Regions from separate parts of the Homo sapiens genome. Here all the other regions are linked to region 3. The links are contacts of gene promoters, found by promoter capture Hi-C in human tissues and cell types (Jung and others, 2019). All regions are on one chromosome and are shown on one strand. Each heading gives the region's core, a stretch centred on a gene start or on the middle of the fragment in contact. The rest is flanking DNA. Distances are from core to core; before and after follow the strand shown.

The links. The method cuts DNA at HindIII sites, captures the fragments that hold promoters and counts their contacts. A contact is called where the count stands out against the background at its distance.
Region 1: a contact is called between a fragment that was not itself captured here and the fragment with the promoter of CYB561 in region 3, in 1 of the 25 tissues and cell types used here (aorta).
Region 2: a contact is called between the fragment with the promoter of CCDC47 here and the fragment with the promoter of CYB561 in region 3, in 1 of the 25 tissues and cell types used here (bladder).

The regions. Positions count from the first base shown.
Region 1 is chr17:63,709,924-63,713,662 of GRCh38, reverse strand. It overlaps STRADA (STE20 related adaptor alpha), which reads left to right. Exons shown (of 13, transcript NM_001003787.4): 6 at 136-257; 7 at 2,827-2,935; 8 at 3,049-3,172. Among named protein-coding and RNA genes, the nearest start is that of LIMD2, 12 kb to the right of the region's middle. RefSeq lists a silencer at 3,040-3,334. The HindIII fragment of the contact is 3,518 bases long and covers 299-3,739 here.
Region 2 is chr17:63,771,699-63,775,166 of GRCh38, reverse strand. It overlaps CCDC47 (coiled-coil domain containing 47), which reads left to right and starts at 1,570. Exons shown (of 13, transcript NM_020198.3): 1 at 1,570-1,755. DDX42 (DEAD-box helicase 42) reads right to left here and starts at 997. Exons shown (of 18, transcript NM_203499.3): 1 at 791-997. RefSeq lists a silencer at 669-958 and enhancers at 1,089-1,398, 1,111-1,695. The HindIII fragment of the contact is 13,143 bases long and covers 1-3,468 here.
Region 3 is chr17:63,444,605-63,448,461 of GRCh38, reverse strand. It overlaps CYB561 (cytochrome b561), which reads left to right and starts at 2,156. Exons shown (of 6, transcript NM_001915.4): 1 at 2,156-2,217. RefSeq lists enhancers at 1-756, 1,260-1,399, 757-1,570 and silencers at 1,540-1,729, 1,900-2,459. The HindIII fragment of the contact is 15,609 bases long and covers 1-3,857 here.

The DNA.
Region 1 (3,739 bases), core at 808-3,307, 270 kb before region 3:
AAAAAAAAAAAGTAACAGTAGTGAAAAATTTAACATTAAGTTTCTTTTGAAATCAAGTCCCTTTTTTAAAGGAAAATTTTCTTAAAACCTTTTGTTGTTCTTGTCCTTGCGTATGGCATTCCCTTTTTCTTTTAGGCAAAGGATTTGAGGACCTGATGACTGTGAATCTAGCAAGGTACAAACCAACAGGAGAGTACGTGACTGTACGGAGGATTAACCTAGAAGCTTGTTCCAATGAGATGGTAACATTCTTGCAGGTAATAAACCATGAGTGTGTCACATGGAGGGAGGGTGGGCTCTTGGCTCTGATAGGAATTACAAGGAATTACAAAGAAATGAAGGGAGACTAAACGTTCGGAAGTTATGGAAGCTTTCAGTGGAGAATCCTGGCCATTTGGCACTAAGGATTGGGCTGAAATGCTGCTCAGCCTAATTTATATTTCCCTTTTCTTCTCCAAACACTCCCTTCTGGCTTTTTTATTCATTTATTTATTATTTAGAAAGAAGCTAAGTAACTTGCTCATGGCAGAGGCAGGATTCAAACCCAGGCCATCTTGTTCCAGACACAAGGTGCCTGCCCTGCCACCAGTGGCCATCTTCTGGCTCTCAGCCTCCTGTTTGCCTGATGTTCCTTTCTTTTTCTTTTCTTTTTTTTTTTTTTTGAGACGGATTCTCACTCTGTCACCCAGGCTGGAGTGCAGTGGCACGATCTCGGCTCACTGCAACCCCCACCTCCCAGGTTCAAGCGATTCTCCTGCCTTAGCCTCCCGAGTAGCTGGGACTATAGGCGCACACCACCATGCCCGGCTAACTTTTGTATTTTTAGAAAAGACGGGGTTTCTTCATGTTGGCCAGGCTGGTCTCAAACTCCTGACTTCAGGTGATCTGCCTGCCTTGGTCTCCCAAAGTGCTGTGATTACAAATGTGAGCCACCGCATCTGGCCTCTTTTTTTTCGAGACAGGGTCTCATTTTATTGCCCTGGCTGGAGTACAGTGGCAGGACCACGGCTTACTGCAGCCTTAACCTCCTGGGCTCAAATGATTCTCCTGCCTCAGCCCCCCAAGTAGCTGGGACTATAGGCACACCACACCTGACTAATTTTTGTATTTTTTGTAGAGACAGAGTTTCACCATCTTGCCCAGGCTGGTCTCAAACTCCTGAGCTCGAGCAATCAACTCACCTCAGTCTCCCAAAATGCTAGGATTACAGGTGTGAGCCACTATGCCCAGTCCTGACATTCCTTTCTATTCGAGAAGCAAGTAGCCACTCTCTCGTTAAACTGAGAGAGGGGGCAGGCATGGTAGCTCATGCCTGTAATCCCAACACTTTGGGAGGGCAAGGCAGGGAGATTGCTTGAGCCCGGGAGTTTGAGATTGCACTACCAAACTCCAGCCTGGGTGACAGACTGAGTCCCTGGCTCAAAAAATAAAACAAAACAAAACGGAGAGAGACTGTGAGTCTAGTAAGTGCTTGGGAGTTAGACTCTCCTTTCCTGATGCCAGCTTAGAGTCAGGGCCTGGGGCAGTTTTCCTTCAGTAGAGTTAGTTGCAGCCCCTCCCCTCCTTCATTTACAACTTTTTCTGAATTGGTGGTTACCTGATGGTGCTCTAGGACCTGTTCATCTGTTCATAGTAGTTTGGTGGGTCTGAGGATGGAGCAGAAGCCAGTCTCAGCTGGCCTTCTCCTCCATCAACTGTGTTTTCTTTTTCTTTTTTTTTTCTTTATTTGAGACAAGGTCTGGCTCTGTTGCTCAGGCTGGAGTGCGGTGGTGCAATCACAGCTCACCACAGCCTCAACTGCTCAGGCACAGGTGATTCTACCACTTAAGCTTCCCGAGTAGCTGGGACTAAAGGCATGCACCACCATGCTCAACTAATTTTTTGTATGTTTCATATAGATGGGGTTTCGCCATGTTGCCCAGGCTGGTCTCCAACTCTTGGGCTCAAGTGATCTGCCTGCCTCGCCTCCCAAAGTGCTGGGATTACAGGCGTGAGCCACCATGCCCGGCCATGTTTTCTTTTATAATAGAAACATAGTTTTGGGCTGGGCACAGTGGCTCACGCCTGCAATCCCAGCACTTTGGGAGGCCAAAGCAGGCCTAGGCAACATGGCAAAACCCTGTCTCTACAAAAAAATATAAAAAATTAGCTAGGTATGTTGACGTCCACCTGTGGTCGCAGCTACCAGCGAGGCTGAGGTGGGAGGATGACTTGAGCCTGGGAAGTTCAGGCTGCAGTGAGACGGGATCACACCACTGCACTCCAGCCTGGGTGACAGAGCAAGACCCTGTCTCAAAAAAATAAAAAAGAAAACATTTTTGGCCAGGTGCAGTGGCTTGGTGGCTCACGCCTATAATCCTAGCACTTTGGGAGGCTGAGGCAGAAGGACTGCTTGAGCCCAGGAGTTTGAGACCAGCCTGGGCAACACAGTGAGACCTTGTCTCTACAAATAACAACAACAAAATATTTTTTGTTTTCTTATCTTAAAGAGGAATTCTATACGTTGGCCCTTGAAATTGAGATAAGCTTATAACTTCAGAAGTCTTCAGTCAACAGTTTGCCTTCATCATCTCTGAGTCGGTGTGCTGGCACCCTTTGTTGTTGGCAGTTTCCCTATCTGGCAGAGGCAAAGCAGTGCTGGGTCCCTGCAGAGGCAGCAGGGCCTTGTTTTTCCTATGTTGGCAGGCACCTGCTTAGGCTGTTCCCATGACTCTGAGAACACCCAGAAAGTGCCAGGTCCCCCTATTGTCCATGCTGCCATCTTTGTGTTGAGCGGCATCCTTCAGTGCCATTTGGTTCTGACTTCAGCTTCATCATTGCTTCCAGGGCGAGCTGCATGTCTCCAAACTCTTCAACCATCCCAATATCGTGCCATATCGAGCCACTTTTATTGCAGACAATGAGCTGTGGGTTGTCACATCATTCATGGCATACGGTGAGTGGGAAAGGGTTCTTGGTAGAAAGGGGTTATTGGGACTCTGTTGTCAGATTGCCTGTGTTTTCCTCCTCCATTACCTTTCACTGCCTCCATGCAATCCTTTTCTGCAGGTTCTGCAAAAGATCTCATCTGTACACACTTCATGGATGGCATGAATGAGCTGGCGATTGCTTACATCCTGCAGGGGGTGCTGAAGGCCCTCGACTACATCCACCACATGGGATATGTACACAGGTGCGTTCTTAGGCGGCCTTTCCCATGATTACAGTGGGTAGCTATGCCCCTGAGCCTTCAGGTAAAGTGAAGTTTGACTGAAGTTAATGAAGCCAGAGTTTAAAATCAAGGATCTGGATTCTTGCTGAAGATCTCTTTGCTCTGAAAAGAAACAGGGCCCAGCGCGATGGCTCACGCCTGTAATCACAGCGCTTGGGAGGCCAAGGCAGGTGGATCACAAGGTCAGGAGTTTGAGACCAGCCTGGCCAACATAGTGAAACCCTGTCTCTACTAAAAATACAAAAATTAGCCGGGTGTGGTGGCACATGCTTGTAGTCCCAGTAGCTGGGACTACAAGCTGAGGCAGGAGAATCGCTTGAACCTGGGAGGCGGAGGTTGCAGTGACTGGAGATCACACCACTGCACTCCAGCCTGGGTGGCAGAGTGAGACTCTTGTCTGAAAAAAAAAAAAAAAAAAAGAGAGAAGGATCTGGATTCTGACCTTGCCACTGACTTGGGAGATGGTCACTTAGCCTGTTAGTGCTGAAGCCACTGACTTTCTCTTTGCTGAGCAGCTTGGTCTTGAGT
Region 2 (3,468 bases), core at 321-2,820, 330 kb before region 3:
AGAAATGAGCTTGGCTCTGCAAAGCGCCTTAAGACATAGTCCCTGCGCTTGAGGAAGTCCTGGGTGTGTATACGAGAGAGGACAGACATAGAAACATCATTGACAAAAAGAAAACACAGGGAAGCCACAAGAAATTGGATAACTGCCTATAGGAGTGGGGGCAAGAGGGAAATTCTCAGTGATGAGAATGTAATTCCCCAAAACTCTCGACAGCTTCTCCTGTTTTTGATGCATATGTTTGCAATTCCATGTAAATTATTTATTCACATCAGATACGCTCTCAAGTAGGCCGCAAAAAAGTTTGTGTGACTACAGTGATGCTAATAATCGACCTACTCAACGCTGCACAAAGATCATCGCCTATATCTTTTCACTCCTCTCATTTGGCAGCTTTTGCCTCTCAGGACCCCAAATTCGGAGGCCTGCATCTCCCAAGCGCTGCCTCCTTGGGTCAGAATTCTCCCCGCGCTATTCCTGCCCTGGAGCCGGGCACCCTGCAAATCCTTTTCCTAGGCGAGGGGGCGCCGCCTCCGGAAAGCCGCCAACTGGGCCTCGGTAAGACTTGTGAGGGAAGCGGGAGCTGTGGGAGGGCGACGCGGCTAGGAAGGAACCCTAGAGGCCTCAGCCCCCACTCCCACCCCTTCCCGGCACCCCGGCCGCCGGTGCCCCGAGGCTCTGCCGACTCTTTGTTAAGCGAGGCCGCGGTTCCTCCGCCCTCGCTAGGCCCAGCAGTTGCCTCCAGTGCCCCCAAGGACTGGCGGCCTTGCGTCCAGAAACCCCACGCACAAACCTGCTGCTATGGCTGCAGCGGCAGCTGCTACAACCGCGGGCGCGGAGCGAATCCCGGAGCCCAAAGTACGCGCTGTCCCGGCCCGGTCCCGCCGCGCTCCTTCCTCTCCGCCCCCTTCGCCGCCGCCGCCGCCACCACCACCACCGCCGCCGCCACCGCCACCACCGCCACCGCCTCACGGCCCGTTGCTGAAGGGGGGAGGGGAACAAAAACGCGACATGCGCAGTGAGGAACGCGCGGGCAGAAGGGCGGGGCCGGGGCTACGGCTCCCGGAAGGCGCCTGACCTTAAAGCTCCAGAACGCCTCACAGGCTCCTCAGATACTCTGACGGGAAACTGCAGTTGGGTGGACAGTGTTCATGACCCATCTAGAAAGTGGGTCTGCGAATGAAGAAAAAGTGGCGTCAAGGGGCTAGCCAAAAATCCCAAGAGAAAACGGGTTGGACAGAAACCATATTTACATGAACATGCCTATAGTTTAAACTGTTGCATATACTACTAGAGCGACACTCTTGCCTCTGGCCACGTGGTCCCACACAGCATGGCCACCTTTAGCTTCCGGAGCACCGGTTCCGTGTGACGTCAACTTGACGGAATCCTAGGTAGGAGGATTGGGATAGGCGAGGGCAGTTCCGGCCCAGGGGCGGGGATTATGTAATTTTCCCAAAAGCCCCACCTCGCCTCAGCCGGGCGGGAGAGAGGGAGGTCTCGCGCTTTCCCCGGGGTTGCGTCCCGCCCCGCAGGCTGCGCGCAGGCGCTGACGAGCCGCTCGCATTCTACGTAACGGACGGCGGAGGCTACGTGAAGAGAGGCGCGGCGTGACTGAGCTACGGTTCTGGCTGCGTCCTAGAGGCATCCGGGGCAGTAAAACCGCTGCGATCGCGGAGGCGGCGGCCAGGCCGAGAGGCAGGCCGGGCAGGGGTGTCGGACGCAGGGCGCTGGGCCGGGTTTCGGCTTCGGCCACAGGTAAGGAGCGGGCCAGGACGCGCTCGTCGGCGTGGCCGGGCCAGGCCGAGCGGTGACTCCGAGTTGCTTGGCCTGTAGCCCGGTCCGGTTGAGATAATTGTAATGGTTTGGGGGAACTTTCCCACGGAGCTGTGAGCAAATGATAGCCAAAAGGGCAGAGTTAGAGGAAATGTACAGTGTGTGCCGGAGGATGACATTAGGATGTATTGATTCTCTTGGGTGGGGAGAAACTAGGCAAAGGGGTTTAATAGAAGCAAAAACCTCTGTGGCCAGTCTCTTCTGGAGGTTTCTAAAATGAAACGTGTTTGTATCCAACACATATAAAGAGACAGAGGAAAGTCTGCATGATTTCCAGAATACTCGTTTTGGCCGTTGTCAGGAAGACCTAATCTAAAATGACAACAAGGAATGATGGCCTCACTCAGTCCTCTTTCCTCAAGTCTAGACTCAGTCGCTGAGGAACTATTGGATGAGCTTGCAGAAAATAATCAAACCAGACTTGTTAGCGCTTGTGTGAATTTTCCTTGGTCCTGTGTTGCTTGCTTCAGGAGTCATAGAGGCTGGGTGGTCTGGCAAGGACTTGTGCATTTGAGAACTGACAGGTGCAGCGGAGACTTCTAAGAGGGAAAACCAAGGTAAAAATGGCTTGGATGATTGTAACCTAAATAACCTTGAAGGATCTCCATTATAGTGCTGAGTTATCTCAGAAGTGTTTCTATGGTGTGAATATTCTAATTGGAAATTCAATTTGAAATGATCGGATCTTTTGGCAGGCTGTTAATCGAGTTGACTGTTCCGGTGTTAACTTTTAGTTGCTTCTATATGAAAAAAAAGTTTTAAGAGTAGGATTTGAAAAGGAGGCTGGGCGCGGTGGCCCACGTCTGTAATCCCAGCACTTTGGGAGGCCGAGACGGGTGGATCACGAGGTCAGGAGATCGAGACCATCCTGGCTAACACAGTGAAACCCCGTCTCTACTAAAAATACAAAAAATTAGCCCTGCGTGGTGGCGAGCGCCTGTAGTCCCAGCTACTTGGGAGGCTGAGGCAGAAGAATGGCGTGAACCCGGGAGGCGGAGCTTGCAGTGAGCCGAGATCGTGCCACTGCACTCCAGCCTGGGTGACAGAGTCAGACTCCGTCTCAAAAAAAAAAAAAAAAAAAAACCCTTGGTACATATCTCCCGTAATACCCACTGCAGCCCTAAGAGGCAAGTAGCAAATGGTATCCCTTTTTTGTATGTGGAGAACAGGGAATTTTAAGTAATTAGGCTAAGGTCATATTGCTGGTAAATGGTAGAGCTGACATTTTATTTTATTATTTATCTATTTTTTTGAGACAGAGTCTCACCCTGTTGCCCAGGCTGGAGTGCAGTGGCGCAATCTTGGCTCACTACAACCTCCATCTCTCGGGTTCAAGCGATTCTCCTGCCTCAGCGTCCCGAGTAGCTGGGATTACAGGTGCCTGCCACCACGCCCGGCTAATTTTTGTATTTTTAGTAGAGGTGGGGTTTCACTATTTTGGCCAAGCTGGTCTCGAACTCCTGACCTCAAATGATCCACCCACCTCGGCCTCCCAAAGTGCTGAGATTACAGACGTGGACCACCACGCCTGGCCTAGAGCTGACATTTTAAACCAAGTCTAATTTCACCAAAGTATGTGCTGTTTTCTATATTTCTTCCACTTTTGACCAAATATCACAACATGAGAACTAGAGG
Region 3 (3,857 bases), core at 907-3,406:
GGAGTAGCTGGGATTACAGGCATGTGCCACCCCGCCCGGCTAATTTTGTATTTTTAGTAGAGATGGGGTTTCTCCACGTTGGTCAGGCTGGTCTCTAGCTCCCGATCTCAGGTGATCCGCCCGCCTCGGCCTCCCAAAGTGCTGGGATTACAGGCGTTAGCACAACTCAGGAGGCCCTGGAACTCATCTTGTGCCACTCAAGAAAGGGCAGGAGGGGTCCTCTCCTTTCCCACCTTTCCCAAGCTGAAGGACTGCACACTTCTCAGGCTTCCAAGGCAGGAGCTTCGGCAGCAGGAACAGGGTTGCAAGGTAGTTAGTCTGGGTGTCTGTCGTCCTGGGTTGGGACATCTGGGAGCTGGGGCAAGGCCTCTGGGCCCTAGTGCCAGAGAGCAGTTTGGTGGCGTTGCCTGTTCTTTAAAATGGGTTAGGTGTAGCCATGAGCCCCCCCATGCAGCGGGTGTGCAGGCCTCTCCCTCAGTCAGAACACCCTCACCCACCCCTCCCCACTTGAAGCAGGCCCTTGAGAACACTGCTGGCAGGGAGGCGGCTGCTCTTCCTCCTAAGGGAAAAGCCTGCAGCCCCGTGCTGCTGGGCCGTGGGGTGAGGGGGAAGCCAAAGGGCCCCTATCACCCCTCAGCAGGAGTCTCTCCTGGCTTTGGAAGGGGCTGAAGGCCCGGGGCTCTCACGAGGGAACTCAGCCCTGCTCAGCCGGTCAGGACTCCTCCTCCACGTCTAAATCCACAGACCAAACAAAGGACATGGCTCAGTTCCACCTTCAATCCACAGGGATTCTGCCTGTTAGCACGCTAAGGAAACTGTTTCTTACTTTAAATTATCCATTAATTTCCTCCAACTGAAAGATACTCTACAAATTTTCTGTTGTTGGAGGGTTTAAGCTTGGTCCCTCTGAGGGGGTGGGCCCTGCTGTGTCGGCCCCTTGTGTCTGCTCGTGGAAGGTGTGCCATGTGCCACCGTGTGCCATATGCAGCTGACACGCCTGTGCGTCTCGCCTGGCGCTGGAGACTGCTCTCTGTGTACTAAGCGAGTACTGGATCCCCAGGGCCTATCTTGCCCACTGCCTGTGGCAATACACAGGCAATACACAAAGCGCATTCAAGTAAGCAGGTCTCCCTGCCCCCCGGCCTCCCAGAACCTCGGTGCCTGGAGGGCAGGTGGGGGAGGGCGTTCCTGAATGGAGGCCGGTTTCCCTCTGCGGGGAGGAAACCCCATTTCCCTCCTACCCCTAGGCGCTTGCTACATCTGGCCCGGCATCAGACAGGAAAGAACCCTTTCTTCCCAGCTTGTAGGAAGTCTGAGCTGGGCCCCTTATCTACCCACAGCACTTCCTGGACCGGGGGCCTGGACCGGGCTCCGAAGGGGCTGGCTCCCGGTCTTGGTCTTGGCCTCGGCGCCCTCGTTTCTCTGCGCTTTGGGCAGGGGAAGCTGCGGACGGCAAGCTCTCGGCTTTCGTGAGAGCCTGGTGGAATCGGTGTTCCCCGAAGGCTACTCTGCGGGGGCGGGGGCTAGTCCGGGCCTTCCCGGCAGTATCGTCTCCCCCGTGGGGGCTGGGGAGGTGCCCCCAGGGCTCCCGGAGCGGCGGCGTGGCCAAGGCCCGAACCGGGTCTGACATCTAGTGGCCTCCTGGGCCCGGGCAGGGCGAGGGCGGGGCAGGGAAGAAGGTGGAGGGCAGAATGGGAGGCGTGGAGCGAGAAAATCAGGAAGCGCGGGACCAAGCCGGGGAAGGGCGGCGGGTCTCGCCCCTGGCACCCGCTCTCCTCGGGGCCCGTCCCATCCCCCAGGCCTGGCCGACCCCAGGTCCTTCCGTGCGCAGTCGGGGCTCGCAAGGACGAATCCCGCGGCCCTCGAGGCAGGCCCGGGGGAGCTCCCGGCCCTCCACCCCCGCAGGCCGCAGATCCCACGCACCCCCGATCATGGGGGCCCCGGAGGGAGGTCGCGAGGCCGGGCTCACGGTGGCCGCGGTTCGCCCACGTGCGGGCCCGGAGCTGGCAGGGCCCGGTCCCGAGCGTGGCCGCAACCGCGGGGACCTGGCACGTGCGGGGCAGCCCCGGGGGCCGCGTACGCCACTTCCGGTCCCGGAGACACCGCCCAGCCCGCCGCCCGGTTGCCATGGCGACGCCGTCGCGCCACGGCCCGCAGAACCGGCCAAGCGACCCGGGCGCGGCGCGGGGAGGCTGAAGGGACGCTCGGGTAGGCAAGGTAGGAGGCCGGGCTGGGGGTGGGAGCGGAGCGCGCAGGGGTGCGGGGCGGGGGCGGCCCAGGTGAGCCCTGACTGCGCAGGGAGGGACAGCGCGGGGCTCCCGAGTAGCAGCCGGCCTCGCACCTGCCCCTTGCGGCCGCGCACTGGACTGCGGCGCCGACCCGCACCCTGGGCCCGAGGGCTGCAGGGCTCGCCCGCCCTCTCGGAGCCGAGCCTCTCCCGGTCCAGGCGGCCCCTGCCCTGGCCTGCCCGGGTGCCGGGTCTCTGCTGAAGTTAGAACCGAGACCCCCGCTTGCTGGTGACCCCGAGTTTGGATCTTTGCTCCTGCGCCGCGTTCTAGAGCAAGGTAGGGTGCAAATGGACCAACCAGCCTTTGCCACGGCTGCCCTCTTGAAATCTGAAACCGGAGCCACCGCCTCTTGCCCCGAGCAGGGCCCGGGCTGCAACGTGGAGCCGCAGGTCCCCGCCTGTGTCTCCCGACGCCCCCAGCTTCTGAGCGCGAGGGTGGGAGTTTCCCGAGTGGGAAAGCCCCATGGCTTCGGTGGCCTCGGTGGCCCTGTGGTGGGTCAGGCCGGTGCCAACTGCGCTGAGGGCGGAGCTGCCGCCACCTTGACACCTGGGAGATGGCAGGGCCACCCTCCCTCCCTCCCTCCCTGCCCTGTCCCCGACTGTATCACGGAGCGAGGATCATCCGTGTGGATCTGGGGTCCCCTTCCCAGACTTCTCCTTTCTGGTCGTCCTCCTCTCATTCATTCCACCTTGGCAGCCTTTGTGGATTTTCTGACTCCGTAAATGAAGTTACATCTAGGGCGCCTAGATTCTGCCCCTTTGGTTTAATAGCTAATGAAAAAAAAAAAAAAAAAGCTTTGCCACCTCCTCTAGGTGCCTGGATTTCTCCCGGTGAAATTTGATGGAGGCAGGAAAATACGAGGCGGTGGCAGCCCCACCTCCTTGCATGAGGGAGCCTCCTAGAGCTGGAGGTGGAACCACCCTGCTTGTCCCACTCCTTTTCTTTCTTGCTTTATTGCTTTCTTGCTTTCCTTACTTTCCTTCCTTCTTTTTTTTTTGAGATGGAGTCTTGCTCTGTTGCCAGGAGGCTGGAGTGCAGAGGGCAATATCAGCTCACTGCAACCTCCATCTTCCGGGTTCAAGCGATTCTCCTGTTCCAGCCTCCCTAGTAGCTGGGATTACAGGTGTGTGCCACAACACGCAGCTAATTTTTGCATTTTTAGGAGAGACGGGGTTTCACCATGTTGGCCAGGCTGGTCTCGAACTCCTAACCTCAAGTGATCTGCCCGCCTTGGCATCCCAAAGTGCTAGGATTACAGACGTGAGCCACCGTGCCCAGCCTTGTCCTACTACTTTTCTGCCCTCACCACTTTTCCTTGGCAGGCAGAGCTTGGGCTCCTGCTAATACTGGGATGGTTCAGTGGCATTAGATGGCATTGGTGGAGGGGAATGAGAAATTAACCCCCTCTGAAAGCGTAGCTTCACTGGGAAAAAGCACTCTACTGTCTGAACAATTCATAAATGAATTTTGGGAATATACAATGTCACAGATTAAAAGCAGACCATCCTGTGTTCTTCCAGCCCCAGGAGCTTCTGCTTGGTGTGCAGGGGCTAATGGTGGACAGCAATG